Regions from separate parts of the Homo sapiens genome. Here regions 2, 3 and 4 are each linked to region 1. Evidence: promoter capture Hi-C in human tissues and cell types (Jung and others, 2019). All regions are on one chromosome and are shown on one strand. The core of a region is centred on a gene start or on the middle of the fragment in contact, and the rest is flanking DNA. Distances in the headings are between cores, read along the strand shown. Region 1 holds the start of STARD3 (StAR related lipid transfer domain containing 3). Region 2 overlaps MED1 (mediator complex subunit 1). Region 3 overlaps IKZF3 (IKAROS family zinc finger 3). Region 4 overlaps IKZF3 (IKAROS family zinc finger 3).

Evidence for each region. Contacts are between HindIII fragments. The study calls those that stand out against the background at their distance.
Region 2: a contact is called between a fragment that was not itself captured here and the fragment with the promoter of STARD3 in region 1, in 1 of the 25 tissues and cell types used here (dorsolateral prefrontal cortex).
Region 3: a fragment that was not itself captured here is called in contact with the fragment with the promoter of STARD3 in region 1 in 1 of the 25 tissues and cell types used here (mesendoderm cells).
Region 4: a fragment that was not itself captured here is called in contact with the fragment with the promoter of STARD3 in region 1 in 5 of the 25 tissues and cell types used here (H1 embryonic stem cells, liver, lymphoblastoid cells and 2 more).

Annotation. Positions count from the first base shown.
Region 1 is chr17:39,635,384-39,638,617 of GRCh38, forward strand. It overlaps STARD3 (StAR related lipid transfer domain containing 3), which reads left to right and starts at 1,761. Exons shown (of 15, transcript NM_006804.4): 1 at 1,761-1,848. It overlaps PPP1R1B (protein phosphatase 1 regulatory inhibitor subunit 1B), which reads left to right. Exons shown (of 7, transcript NM_032192.4): 6 at 224-343; 7 at 433-1,241. The coding sequence ends at 482. It overlaps LOC124903998 (a long non-coding RNA gene), which reads right to left and starts at 1,907. Exons shown (of 2, transcript XR_007065749.1): 1 at 1,608-1,907. RefSeq lists enhancers at 1-529, 2,313-2,432 and a silencer at 1,703-1,772. The HindIII fragment of the contact is 10,179 bases long and covers 1-3,234 here.
Region 2 is chr17:39,408,030-39,411,263 of GRCh38, forward strand. MED1 (mediator complex subunit 1) reads right to left here. Exons shown (of 17, transcript NM_004774.4): 17 at 1-2,692. Among named protein-coding and RNA genes, the nearest start is that of FBXL20, 8.0 kb to the left of the region's middle. The HindIII fragment of the contact is 5,074 bases long and covers 1-3,234 here.
Region 3 is chr17:39,808,749-39,811,982 of GRCh38, forward strand. All of the region lies in intron 3 of IKZF3 (IKAROS family zinc finger 3), which reads right to left. Among named protein-coding and RNA genes, the nearest start is that of IKZF3, 54 kb to the right of the region's middle. The HindIII fragment of the contact is 4,134 bases long and covers 1-3,234 here.
Region 4 is chr17:39,778,628-39,781,861 of GRCh38, forward strand. The region is part of intron 6 of IKZF3 (IKAROS family zinc finger 3); the gene reads right to left. Among named protein-coding and RNA genes, the nearest start is that of GRB7, 42 kb to the left of the region's middle. The HindIII fragment of the contact is 7,861 bases long and covers 1-3,234 here.

The DNA.
Region 1 (3,234 bases), core at 511-3,010:
TACACAATTTCCCCCTTTCTATTTCCTTCAGAAAGGTACTAACTGACTTACGTAAGCCATATGGCTAGTTGCTGGGAGAGCTGTTCTAGCCCAGTTCTCTCTCCATGCTTCCATGATGCCCCTGGAAAGCTTAACCTCAGCCATCAGACACTTAGCTCACACTCCAGGACAGCCGGATGGATACGCAGAGCCTGTGTTCTTATCTCTTCTTTCCCATCCCCAGCTGGGCAAAAGACAACCTGTGGCCAGGGTCTGGAAGGGCCCTGGGAGCGCCCACCCCCTCTGGATGAGTCCGAGAGAGATGGAGGCTCTGAGGACCAAGTGGAAGACCCAGCACTAAGTGGTAAGGCTTGGGAGTGTGAAATGGGGAGGAGGGGCTGGGATCTTGGTGGGTGGGGCCAGGCCCTGAGTCCCTCTCTGCTTGCCTTTCAGAGCCTGGGGAGGAACCTCAGCGCCCTTCCCCCTCTGAGCCTGGCACATAGGCACCCAGCCTGCATCTCCCAGGAGGAAGTGGAGGGGACATCGCTGTTCCCCAGAAACCCACTCTATCCTCACCCTGTTTTGTGCTCTTCCCCTCGCCTGCTAGGGCTGCGGCTTCTGACTTCTAGAAGACTAAGGCTGGTCTGTGTTTGCTTGTTTGCCCACCTTTGGCTGATACCCAGAGAACCTGGGCACTTGCTGCCTGATGCCCACCCCTGCCAGTCATTCCTCCATTCACCCAGCGGGAGGTGGGATGTGAGACAGCCCACATTGGAAAATCCAGAAAACCGGGAACAGGGATTTGCCCTTCACAATTCTACTCCCCAGATCCTCTCCCCTGGACACAGGAGACCCACAGGGCAGGACCCTAAGATCTGGGGAAAGGAGGTCCTGAGAACCTTGAGGTACCCTTAGATCCTTTTCTACCCACTTTCCTATGGAGGATTCCAAGTCACCACTTCTCTCACCGGCTTCTACCAGGGTCCAGGACTAAGGCGTTTTTCTCCATAGCCTCAACATTTTGGGAATCTTCCCTTAATCACCCTTGCTCCTCCTGGGTGCCTGGAAGATGGACTGGCAGAGACCTCTTTGTTGCGTTTTGTGCTTTGATGCCAGGAATGCCGCCTAGTTTATGTCCCCGGTGGGGCACACAGCGGGGGGCGCCAGGTTTTCCTTGTCCCCCAGCTGCTCTGCCCCTTTCCCCTTCTTCCCTGACTCCAGGCCTGAACCCCTCCCGTGCTGTAATAAATCTTTGTAAATAACTGCTGAGACTCCTCTTTCAGGGGAAGCAGGAGGAAAAGGGAGGTAATGGGGCGTCCTGATAGGGAAGGCCGGTGGTCAACCAAGGGTTAGGGTTTTGACCCTACTGTCCAATCCTCTAGTCTAGGAGTCTTTCTGGCAGACAGCAGGCTCGGGGCACTCAGAGGAAGAACTACAGAAGTTCTAGCTGCTGCTTGGGATGGCTGAAGGAGGCAGGTGGGGTGGGGAAGTCCTTCTCGAATAACTGGATTCCTCCAAAGATTTCCCCATCCCCACAGGACTCCCCTCGGGAAATTCCCCTTTTTCCCTCAGTGCCAGGCCTGTGTGGCCTAATAACGACGGCCCTGGTCTTCTTCCCACTCCCCTACCCTTAGGTAGGCCCTTAGACTCCGGCCTTTGAGTCCGCTTCTGCGCAGGGCCGGGGCTGGAGGCGGGGCGAAGGGGCGGGGCCGCAGGCGAACGCAAGTCCCGCTTCGCTCTCGGGGGCGGACTCAGCGGCGGAAGTGGCGCTGCCGGAAGATCTTCTTCCGCTCTGAGGCGCTACTGAGGCCGCGGAGCCGGACTGCGGTTGGGGCGGGAAGAGCCGGGGCCGTGGCTGACATGGAGCAGGTGGGTCCCGGAGCGGTCGCTGGGAGCGGGTGGCGTGCGAGGGCCGTCTTCCGCCGGTCGAACCCGCTTCGCCGCCCGCTGTCCGTGCTGGGTTCCGTCCGACCCTTCCCACACCCGCTGCGTCTCAGGTTCCGCCCCCTTCCTCTGTCTGGCCTCGCGCCGCCCCGCGCGGGTTGGGGTCTCCAGCAATGACTCTTGGCGACCCCGCCTATCCTGGGGAGCCCGGGGAGGACGTTCGGGATCTCCTTCCAAAGCCTCCGTCTTAACTGAGGGGAGAGGAGAGGGTGAGGTGTCTGGGTGTTATGAGCAGGGGCAGGTATGGGGAGGGGTCGGAATCTGGGGTGAGAGGAAAACATCTACGCATTCCGGTAGCTCTGCGTCTCAGTGTCATCCCGTGTCTCCCCAACTTCCTTTCGAAACGGCCGTGAATAACTTCCTAATTGGTATTAAAAGGGCCCTTTGAAGTCTTGAGTTCTTAGAGGTGCATAGTACCATTGACACTCATTTCTAATGACACGTTCCCTCACCCCGCATTTTTGGGTTAGTCAATGTCTCCTGGTTTTCTTCGTACCGCTCTGACAGTCGGTCAAAGTCCCGCTTCACGTTTTCCTCTGTCGCCCAACCCCTCGCTCTGTACACTGAATCTCAGTGGTCTTATTTTCCCCCACGGCTTCAGCTTTACACCAACTAAATACCCAGATCCACATCTTCAGCGCAGCCCTTCCCTGGAGCTCCACGCTTGCCCATCCAGCGGCCATTGGGACAGCTCTGCTTCACATGGAGCTCACTGGGTCCAAACTTGAACTGGTCTTTTCCTTGCAGATTAATTCTTCCTCTACCCCAACCCAGCCGGAAGTCTGGTAATTTCCTTACACTTTCTCCTCTCTTTCAAGTCCCACATCTTAAAAGTGACCTAGTACTGCCAACTTCCTGAACATCCTTCAAACCTGGGCCAGCTCCATCTCTTCTGTTACCACGCTGTTGATGTATTGTCAATTCCCAACAGTCCAGCCCTGGCAGCTTGCAACCCAGTCTCCAAACTGTAACTCTTGTGATCCTTTTAGAACACAAGTCTTACGGTGCCAGTTCCTTGCTGATAACCTTTTTCTGGCTTTCTATTGCCTATGTGCTGAACCCCTAGCACAATTTACACAGCTCTCTGTGATCTGACCTAGCAGTCTCCTGTGTGCACCCTAAGGTCCAATAATACGGCACTGCAGCATGCGCCATGCCTACCCTTGCTGTTCGTATCTTCATGACTTTGCACACACCAGCCCCCGCTGCTTGGAAACCTCCTCCTTCTCTTGTCTGCTGGGCTACCTTCTACATGTTTTTCAGCGCAGGCAGCGCTGCCTCCGCCTAACCCCCAAGGTTAATTGCCCTTCT
Region 2 (3,234 bases), core at 231-2,730, 230 kb before region 1:
ATGCTTACTGATGATAATTTTTGCCACACCTGTGCTCCCCACATTTTTTGACTCTGAGGTCTTCTTAGAAGAATCCACTGAACTCCCGGAGGTGGAAACCTTTGATTTGTCTTTATCACTTTTCTCACGCTTGCCCTGAAACTCTCCTCCTGACATGTTATGTTTGGAGGACATAGGATGGCTGGAAGAATTTGTGCTCACCCCCATCTGGCCGTCCAGTGGGTCTTCACCCCCAGGGCCACTGGTGACAACCCCATGCTTCAGTTTATCTATGACAGCTGTCAAGGACGGCTTCTTGTTTCTGCTGGGAGATTTTCCTTTAGAACTCCCATGCTGGTTCTGAGAGGATGACATGGAAGAGCCACTTGAGGAAAAGGAGGAGGAAGATGCCGTACAGGAATTAGATGATGGGGGAGTTTTCTGGGACAACGAGCCTGAGGATCCTAACCCTGAAGATGACTTCATGCCAGAGCTTGAACTAGTTCCAGACATATGAGAACCACCAGAACCTGAACTGATAGGGGACTTGGCTTTAGAGGATGGAGGAGTTCCAGGAACAGGCTTCATTGGAGAGGCAAGCTTGTCAGAGCCTCCAGGTGGCCTTGAATGAGAAGGGGATATGTTTGGTTTACTTAAAGAAGGATTCATAAGTGATGATGGCTTTCCTTGAGGTTTCATCTTGGTGCTGCTAGAGCCACTGCTCAGTCCATGCTTGGTTATGGGAGAGGAGCCTGGCTTCCCCCCAGACTGGGATGAATTTTTGGACTGGCTAGATCCAGAAGACCCCTGGCTAGAATACATACTGCTACTTAACTTGGAACTTGATGAACCTTCTGATTTACTGCTTTTCATCTTCCCTGAGGTGGAAGCAGATGAGGAAGAGGAGGAAGAATGGCTATGGTGGCTTTTGCTGCCTGAGGAAGACACAGAACCACTGCTGGTATACTGACTGTGAGAGGAAGGCTTGCCCACCATCACTGTTCCCTTAGGAATCTGAATAGTGATTTTGGGAATGGGTGGTGTGGCAACACCTGGGGGAGTCTGAGATCTTCCTGCACTGCCTGGCGATTTAGATCCACCTGTACTGGTAGGTGGGGTAAAAGGTCTGTTAGAAGAACTATGAGATGGAGACTTTCCCTCAGTGTCTGCCTTCTTCCGCTTTGGAGGCTTATCTTTGCTTTTCCCATCATTAGAAGGGGTCCGACTGCGCTTCCCTGGTTTGCTGTCTAATCCGGGCCCCGAGAGAGTACTATTACTGGTGCCATTGCCTTCCTTTACCCTCTTTTGAGTCTTTTCTTTCCCTAAGTCCCCAGTGGTCAGTAAAGGACCCTGACTACCACTGTGATGCTCCATAAGATCTGCAGGAGCTAAAGCTTTGCCGGCTACTGAAATAATACTGAAATCAACTGTGTCGGCTTGGTTATTGCCCTTAAACTTGGTCTCCCCATTATCACCTCCAAGCATTGGCACCCCCAAAGTATTTAGTGCCTGAGATGCAAATCCTTTGAAATCATCATTATCCCCACTTTGGCTGCTTTCATCAAAATATTCTTCTCCAAAACCACTTTGGCTCTGGCTGTTCAATAAATCAGGATTGAAATCTACTCCATCATGAAAAAAATGATTGGTAGGAGAGTCACTACTGGGGCTTCCAGCAGCATCTGCAATAAGATCAGCTGGATCAGTGTATGGATTTTCATTATTGTTAGTTTGAAAGACATCAGAGTCAAACAGGGTACTCTGAGAATGCCCAGAGCTTGAAGAATCTCGAAGAGGGGTGCCAATGGCTGGGCAATCATCACTAGTGCTGGGAAGTTTAGAAGCTTCTTCTGCAATGTCTGAAAGGATGTCAGTTACATCTGGGCCAATGCTGTCTGAACTGGATAGTCGGACCATCCTTTGAATACTGGGTTGGGGGTGAGGTACTGGTTGTGGGTAAGTTGTTGGGGGAGTGCTACACTGGCTTGGAGCTGGAGTGATGTGTGGCGTATCCAGCGTGTCAGCTGTCATGTTGACATCAAAGATAGGGTTCTGTGAGTCAACATCCATTGAAAATAGCTCCCTCTGAAAGTCATCTTCAGTCTGGTGCTTTGGTTTCTCAGGTGGTAATCTTGATGACTTCTTTTTCTTGGTCTTGTTGCTCCCCGAGCATATTTCCATGCGGGGTGAGCCGGAAGAGGAGTTCTGCCTTTCTAAAGGGCTGCTTCCATAAAGGGTTGAGAAATCCTGGGCAGGATTATCTTTAAGAAGGTTCATGAGCATCGGGTGGTTCTTGGTGTTGCCGGCCATCGAAGAGACAGGTGGCGGCGTGTGATGAGGAGGGGTCGGACTCGAGCCAATGGTAGACCCCCCGTTCCCTGTGATTTGCAACAAACTGGTAAGAATTGGGTTCTGAGACACCTTGCTGAAGTCCTCCCCATGGCCCACCGACTCATGCCGATCTTTGATGCTCATGCTCATATTAAACAAGGTGGTAATGGGACCCCCCGGAAAGGTGTTGGTTGGTGTAGTGGTACCACTCATTGGGTTGTTGCCTGTGGTCATGCCATACCCTGGGCTGCTAGCCGGGGGCAGGTTCTTTTTCACCATGTCTTCAACTGTCTCTGCAATGAGGGACAGTGCTGGGGTGTCGGCTTGAATGGTTTCAGCTTTCCTCCGAATAGCCCTCATCGTCACAGGGATGGACATACATCTGCAAAATAAAGAAGAAAACAAAGTTAACATTGCAATAGCTGCTGAATGAGACCTGAGATTTAGATATAACATCAGAGTTTTGCAGTAAGCAGTTTTCAGGTAGGGCAAATAATCTGTAAGACAAAAATAGTTCTATCAAATACCAGAGCTTTGGGTAAATACATTCTAAAAATCTAACCCAACATAAAATTGTCAACCTCTTATGAATCACACAACAAAAGCAAACTATAAACAAGAGTCCAAATAATTGAATTTCAAACTTAACTAAAAGAAAATTGGTAATAATGGAACTCAGTAAGAAAATGCCTCCTTAGGGGCCGGGCACAGTGGCTCACGCCTGTAATCCCAGCACTTTGGGAGGCCAAGGCGGCTGGAACATGAGGTCAGGAGATCGACACCATCCTGGCCAACATGGTGAAACCCCGTCTCTACTAAAAATACAAAAATTAGCTGGGCGTGGTGGCGCGTGCCTGTAATCCCAGCTACTCGGGAGGTTGAGGCAGGAGAATTGCTTGAACAAGGGAGGCGGAGGTTGCATTG
Region 3 (3,234 bases), core at 271-2,770, 170 kb after region 1:
CTAGTACAACCTGAAGGACTAGAACCGGAAAATCAAGCTGATGGTAAGTAAGGAATAGGTCATATAAAAATGCAAGAGAGAGTTCTGGGCTCCAAGTAATGAAAAGAGTAATAATGGACCATTAAGTAGTGTTTGTTCAAATGTCGGTGGATGGGAGGTATGACCACAGCCTAGGCTGACTTAACAGAAGTTAACAAAGAGCCTTTCCTATTTTCTCAAGGGCTGCTATGAAATTACTTAAGGAGTAAGAAAGGATAACAAAGGCCCTGGCTGAGATTTTTGCTTCTGTAGACGCAGGTGCAGAAAAGGCTGGTTCTAACACATCTTGTCAATGTCTTTAATGCCACCAGACTGATGAATATAGTGAAATATCTATCGTGATCCCATTTTTACTTATTCAGTTGACATAATTAGCAAATCTATTAAGGGTAAGGTCACAAATTATTTTTAGTTATTAAACCATAGGTCTCCATATGTTACTGTTTAGACAGTATCACCCAGTGCAGAATGTAGTTTTCAAGACTGTCATTCCTGCAACCTCAAATCTAGATCCAAATGCAGTCAGTTAAAGCAGATTTCAACCAGGCAGCTAAACGAGAAAACATCTGGACCTACCAGTCAAAATGAGAAAGGTCACATGTTAAACCCAGATAATCTTGTTTATTGGTGTTTGAAGGTTATACACCAAGGGCTGGATTACCAGGGTGCTCCTTTAGGCCTGGCTCTGACATCTTCATTCACCTGCTGTGTGTGTGACGCTTTAAAATCCAAAGCTTTGAAAGTACTGTGTTATTAGTCACTTCCAAATGTAATTTTCCTAATTCTAAGCCTGAATACTATGTCAACCTATTGCTAGACTGCTGATTAGATCCTGGAAGAAACCGCAAGACACAACTGTCAGGGGCAGATGATGTCTATTCTTTTAAAAACTGTTTTCCACATTTCCATTCAGCATTTTTCTATGGATGAAGCACCTGTAATTTTCTCCATCAAAATTAAGAAAAGAAAAGGCCTCTGAATAAGCAAGGAATAAAATTAAAAGATTGACATAGATTTCAGGATGATGATGAAGAAAGGGAGATTGAATCTTTCATTATTTTTCATAATTAGTATTATTTTATATACAAACAACTGAACCAAAATTGTTTATGTTGGAAGCAATTCCACATGCCAGTGCATATGAAACTATTATGAAAACAGCAAAGTCAAGTTTCTTAAGACTTTACATGCTTTGGTCAGATCTTTTTAATCTTTTTTAGGTTGTGAACATCTTTGAGAACTGTACTCTTTGCCCAGAAAAAGGTACACATGCCCATAAACACGAAATTTCACATACTATTGATTGATTTCTCAAACCCTGAGATCTCAGGTTGAGAATCTCTGCCTCAGGCCTTTAAATAGGCTCAGGCTTAAAGACACCTCTGTGTTATATTTTGTAAACTTCATATAATAGTGGTTGGCATTTTTCAAATTTTTTGCTCAAGCATCCTCAAAAGAATTTTGAAAAATTATATATCTCTCTTATACATAGTGGACATTAAGTACATACTAAGTTGACATCTATAATTTTTCATCATGAGTTTAACTATTTTTAAACAAAAGAATACAGTTTGTGTATTGTAAATAATGATAGTTTAAACCATTACCACACCCTTTCAAATGTATCTACTTAGGAATATATACATATTTGTGATTTAATTTACTCCATCATGAATTTAAAAATACATAAGTAAGCTTTTCAAGAAAGTCAGGAAATTTCTCTTTGAACTTCTATTTCCATTTCACTACCCCCATGGAATTTTCTCCTAATGTAGTACTCTTGTATGCTTGAGTCATCTATTGTTCATCCCATTATATGTATCTGCAGCAAAAAAAAAAAAAAAAACCCAATAAAATATAGTTACTTTTGTTAACATGAAGTGCTATGTGTCAAAATGTGTTTTCTTCTGGATTGAATTAGCATTACAATTATTAACATACAATTGAGTAAAACAATATAGGTATATTATAATTTGATCAATAATTACCAAATACAAAAAGTAAAATTTATTGGGACTGTATCTCCTAATGAGAAGGATAGAGAGGAAATAAGTTATGAAAATTTGATAAAAGAAATTATCTAATTGATCCTTTGTTTGGCATCTTGGAAGTACTTACACCTTAGAGGTGGGTGAGAAATGTTCTTTTCTTTTATAAAGTGGAGAAGGAAGGCTGGGCATGGTGGCTTATGCCTGTAATCTCAGCAATTTGGGAGACCAAGGCGAGAAGATCACTTGAGTCTAGGAGTTCAAGACCAGCCTGGGCAACACAGTGAGACCCCTCTACAAAAAGTTAAAAAATTAGCAGGGCATGGTGGTGGGTGCCTGTAGACCTAGTTACTCAGGAGGTTGAGGTGGAAGTATTGCTTGAGCCCACGAGGTCAAGGCTACAGTGAACTGTGATTACACCACTGCACTCCAGCCTGGACAGCAGAGCAAGACCCTGTCTGAAAGAAAGAAAGAAAGAGAGGGAGAGAAAGAAAAAGAGGGAGAAAGGGAGGAAATAAAAAAAGAGAAAGAGAAAGAGAGAAGGAAAGAAAGAAAGAAAGAAAGAAAGGGAAAGAAAGACAGAAAGGGAAAGAAAGAAGGAAGGAAGGAAGGAAGAAAGGACGGAAGGAAGAAAGGAAGGAAGAAAAGGAAGGAAGGAAAGGAAGGAAGGAAGAAAGAAAGAAAGGAAGAAAGAAAAGAAAAAGCAAGCAAGCTCAATGGCAGCAGTCTTCTAGGCAGATCAGTTTTAGGAAGAAGGGCAGAGAATATACTGAAGTTGCGGACCTGGAAATTGATTCTCTTAAAATTATCCCATGCAATCCTTGGAAAGTTTTCCCAGCATTTCAAGAACACTACTAAAATAAAAGACCCCAATGCCAAAATGTACTCACATGCTGTTCTTCACTTTAGTTAATGAACCAATAATTATTTAGTGAGCACTTGTGAACACTGCAGGGGATAAATGGATGAATGGATGGTTGGATGGAAAGGCAGAAAGAAAAATGGATAAACACTGAGCATTTACTATATTCCCAGAACTTTGGCACAAAAGAACACAACTATAAAAGACTGTTCTTGCCATGTCTTTGGGACACAATCAAGTACAATAACACCCTGCCACAATACAATGTGTACAAATTTGGATGTAAAAGGATTGCTGATTGCCTCCAGTTGTCTACCCTTGCCCACTTCTCAGACAAGAGCAAGC
Region 4 (3,234 bases), core at 228-2,727, 140 kb after region 1:
CCTGTCTCTACTAAAAATACAAAATTAGCCTGGTGTGATGGTGCATGCCTGTAATCCCAGCTACTCGGGAGGCTGAGGCAGGAGAATCACTTGAACCTGGGAGGCAGAGGTTGCAGTGAGCCGAGATGGCGCCATTGCACTCCTGCCTGGGCAACAAGGGCAAAATTCCGTCTCAAAAAACAAAGAAACAAACAAAACACAAAAAAACCTGCCTATGAATGTGGGCCCATCCACAAATAGACCTGTGAGTGGTGTAGGCCTGTGGTTCTCAGACCTGGCTGCACATTAGACTCACCTGAATAGCAGGTAAGAAATACCTATGCCCAGGCCCCCCTTCAGATCAATTAAATCAGGATTTCTGGTATAGGGGCCTAGGCAAGAATATTTTCAAAGCTCCCCAGATGATTTTAAAATGCAGCCAGAATTGAGAACTACTAGAAGAGTATATAAATAGTGGCAATATCTAATCAACTAAAATAGTAAACTGTAATGAATATAATTTACCTCAATTCAGCAGGCAGTGCCCAAATTTATGTCTAAAGTTCAAAGAAGGCCAGGCACGGTGGCTCACGTCTATAATCCCAGCACTTTGCAAGGCCGAGGCGGGCAGATCACCTGAGGTCGGGAGTTCAAGACCAGCCTGACCAACATGGAGAAACCCCATCTCTACTAAAAATATAAATAATTAGCTGGGTGTGGTGGCGAATGCCTGTAATCTTAGCTCTCGGGAGGCTGAGGCCGGAGAATCGCTTGAACCCAGGAGGCAGAGGTTGTGGTGAGCCGAGATTGAGCCATTGCACTCCAGCCTGGGCAATAAGAGCAAAACTCCATCTCCAAAAAATAAATAAATTAATTAAATAAATTTCAAAGAGATACCAGCTTCTCTAAATACAAGGCTTGACATTTTAACACATGATGCTAGCCTGAACCAGGGATCAGCAAACTTTTGTCTGTAAAGGGCCAGACAGTAAATTTTAAAAATTTGCCAGACACATATAGTCTCTATGTTATATTCTTTGTTTTTTGTTTTTTTTTTTTCTGTTCCACGGCCTTTTAAAAACGTAAAAATCCCTGTACACAAACAGGCCACTGGCTGCACTTGCCTAGAGCGCCACAGTTTGCCCTCACCTGCCCTGGGCAAACATATTGTGATGCTGTAAACATTTTTCTCTGTTTTCTCATAAACACTTCGGGAGATCCAAACTAAAATGAACTATCCATACATTTCTATTATGTCTAAGGAAGAATAAATTGAAATTAGTTTAAGGGATTAGAGTAAAAAGCAAGTAGTGGCTGGCACAGTGGCTCACCCCTGTAATCCCAGTGCTTTGGGAGACTGAGGCAGGAAGATTGCTTGAGGCCAGGAGTTGAGACCAACCTGGGCAATATAGCAAGATCCTGTTCCTACAAAAAGTAATTTTAAAAAATTAGCTGGGCATGTTGGCATGCGCCTGTAGTCCTAGCTACTTGGGAGACTGAGGTGGGAGGGTTCCTTGAGCCCAGGGGTTTGAGGTTACGGTGAACTATTAAGGTAACTGCAAAGACCACAATTACTTTTGCACCAACCTATTAGTGCCAGTGCACTCCAGCCTGCGTGACAGAGTGAGACTCTGTCTAAAAAAAAAAAAAAAAGCCCCAAAGTATTAAATATTTCTAATTTTATTAGTGGCCTTAAAAAACTGTATGTTAGTCATTACACAATACATTATAAAGCTCAGTTTTCATTATTTAGTTAATTTATTTACTTATTTTTGAAACAGGGTCTCAACTCTGTTACCCAGGGTGGAGTGCAGTGGCATGATCACAGCTCACTGCAGGCTCAACCTCCTGGGCTCAAGTAATCCTTCTACCTCAGGTTCCAAAGTTGCTGGGACTACAGTCTAAAGCCACCATGCCTGGCTAATTAAAAAAAAAAATTATTAGTCTCAATATATTGCTCAGTCTGGTCTCCAACTCTTGGCCTCAGGCAGTCCTCCCACTTCAGCCTCCCAAAGTGTTGGGATTACAGGCATGAGCCACTGCACTCAGCCAAAGCTCAGCTTTTTTTTTTTTCCTGGAATAACATAAAATCTGGCTCTGCCAGGTGTGGTGGCACTAGCCCATAGTCCCAGCTACTCAGGAGGCTGAGGTGAGAGGATGGCTTGAGCCTAGGAGTTCAAGTTCAGCTTGGGCAACACAGTGAGATCCCATCTCTTAAAAAGAAAAAGAAATCCAGCTCCAAAAATGAAAAAGAAGAGGATGATAATAATGTGATAATAATGACAATATTTACTAGACAGTGAGTTTCTTGTCAAAAATAATTCTAGGCTCTAAAGGAATAAATCATAGCCTTCAGTGAAGCTATTAACAACTATTTGTGTAAATGAAAACAGTAAGGGTCAGAATAGGGGGCCTGAGTGGCTTTTGGGCTAGTGCAAAAGTACTCGACTGACTCTGGCTGACCAGCAGTTGTAAATAACGGGCACTTCAGCCACAAGACACTGCTATTGAGTGAAGAGGGTCAAATTCTGTCCAGCACAGGGATAGGTTTAAATGACCAAACAGGAAATTATTTATATATATTATTTCCTTTCACACAAAACCACCACCAGATGTGGCACTACCCAAAGCCCCAAGAGCAGAGAGATGAAAGACAAAGCTTGGAATTTGCAGTAAGTTCCTGGGGCTGTTAGGAGACTTTTTTCTTAGAATCAGGGGAGAGGTAGCTAAGTTTGCACTTTGACTAGGAACATTCATCCTGGTTCCAGCAATTTTGAGAAGATTAAATCCAAGTAAGCCTCCCCTCAACCCTGTAGTTATCAACAAAAAGATTTATAGGGAAAAAAAGAATGAAAAACAGTATTCTGGGAATGTTTACCTTTTATGCCCATTTTACCATTGTTCTTATTAGTCTATTGTGGTCCCTCCTCTCACTGCCAAATCATTACCCAGGAATTACCCCAAGCACGGTGCTACCCATCTAGTTTTCCCATTTGTTTCTCAGCAGTCGCTGTCTACATTTTACTGAAGTCAATGTCAATTAAAACAAGCAGCTTTCTGAGGACACGTAATCAACATCCTCTACATTTGGGAGGATGCTGAAGTGTGGACACATTGACCTAAATAACTGTAATTAGGGCAGGTCACTAAATGGCAAACTTTTGAGATAACATCACCTTTTATTCCTCGTTACCCACCAAACTGGTCTTTAGAGTCATTTCCAGATAAACATTATTCTGTAAATCAGTGACCAAA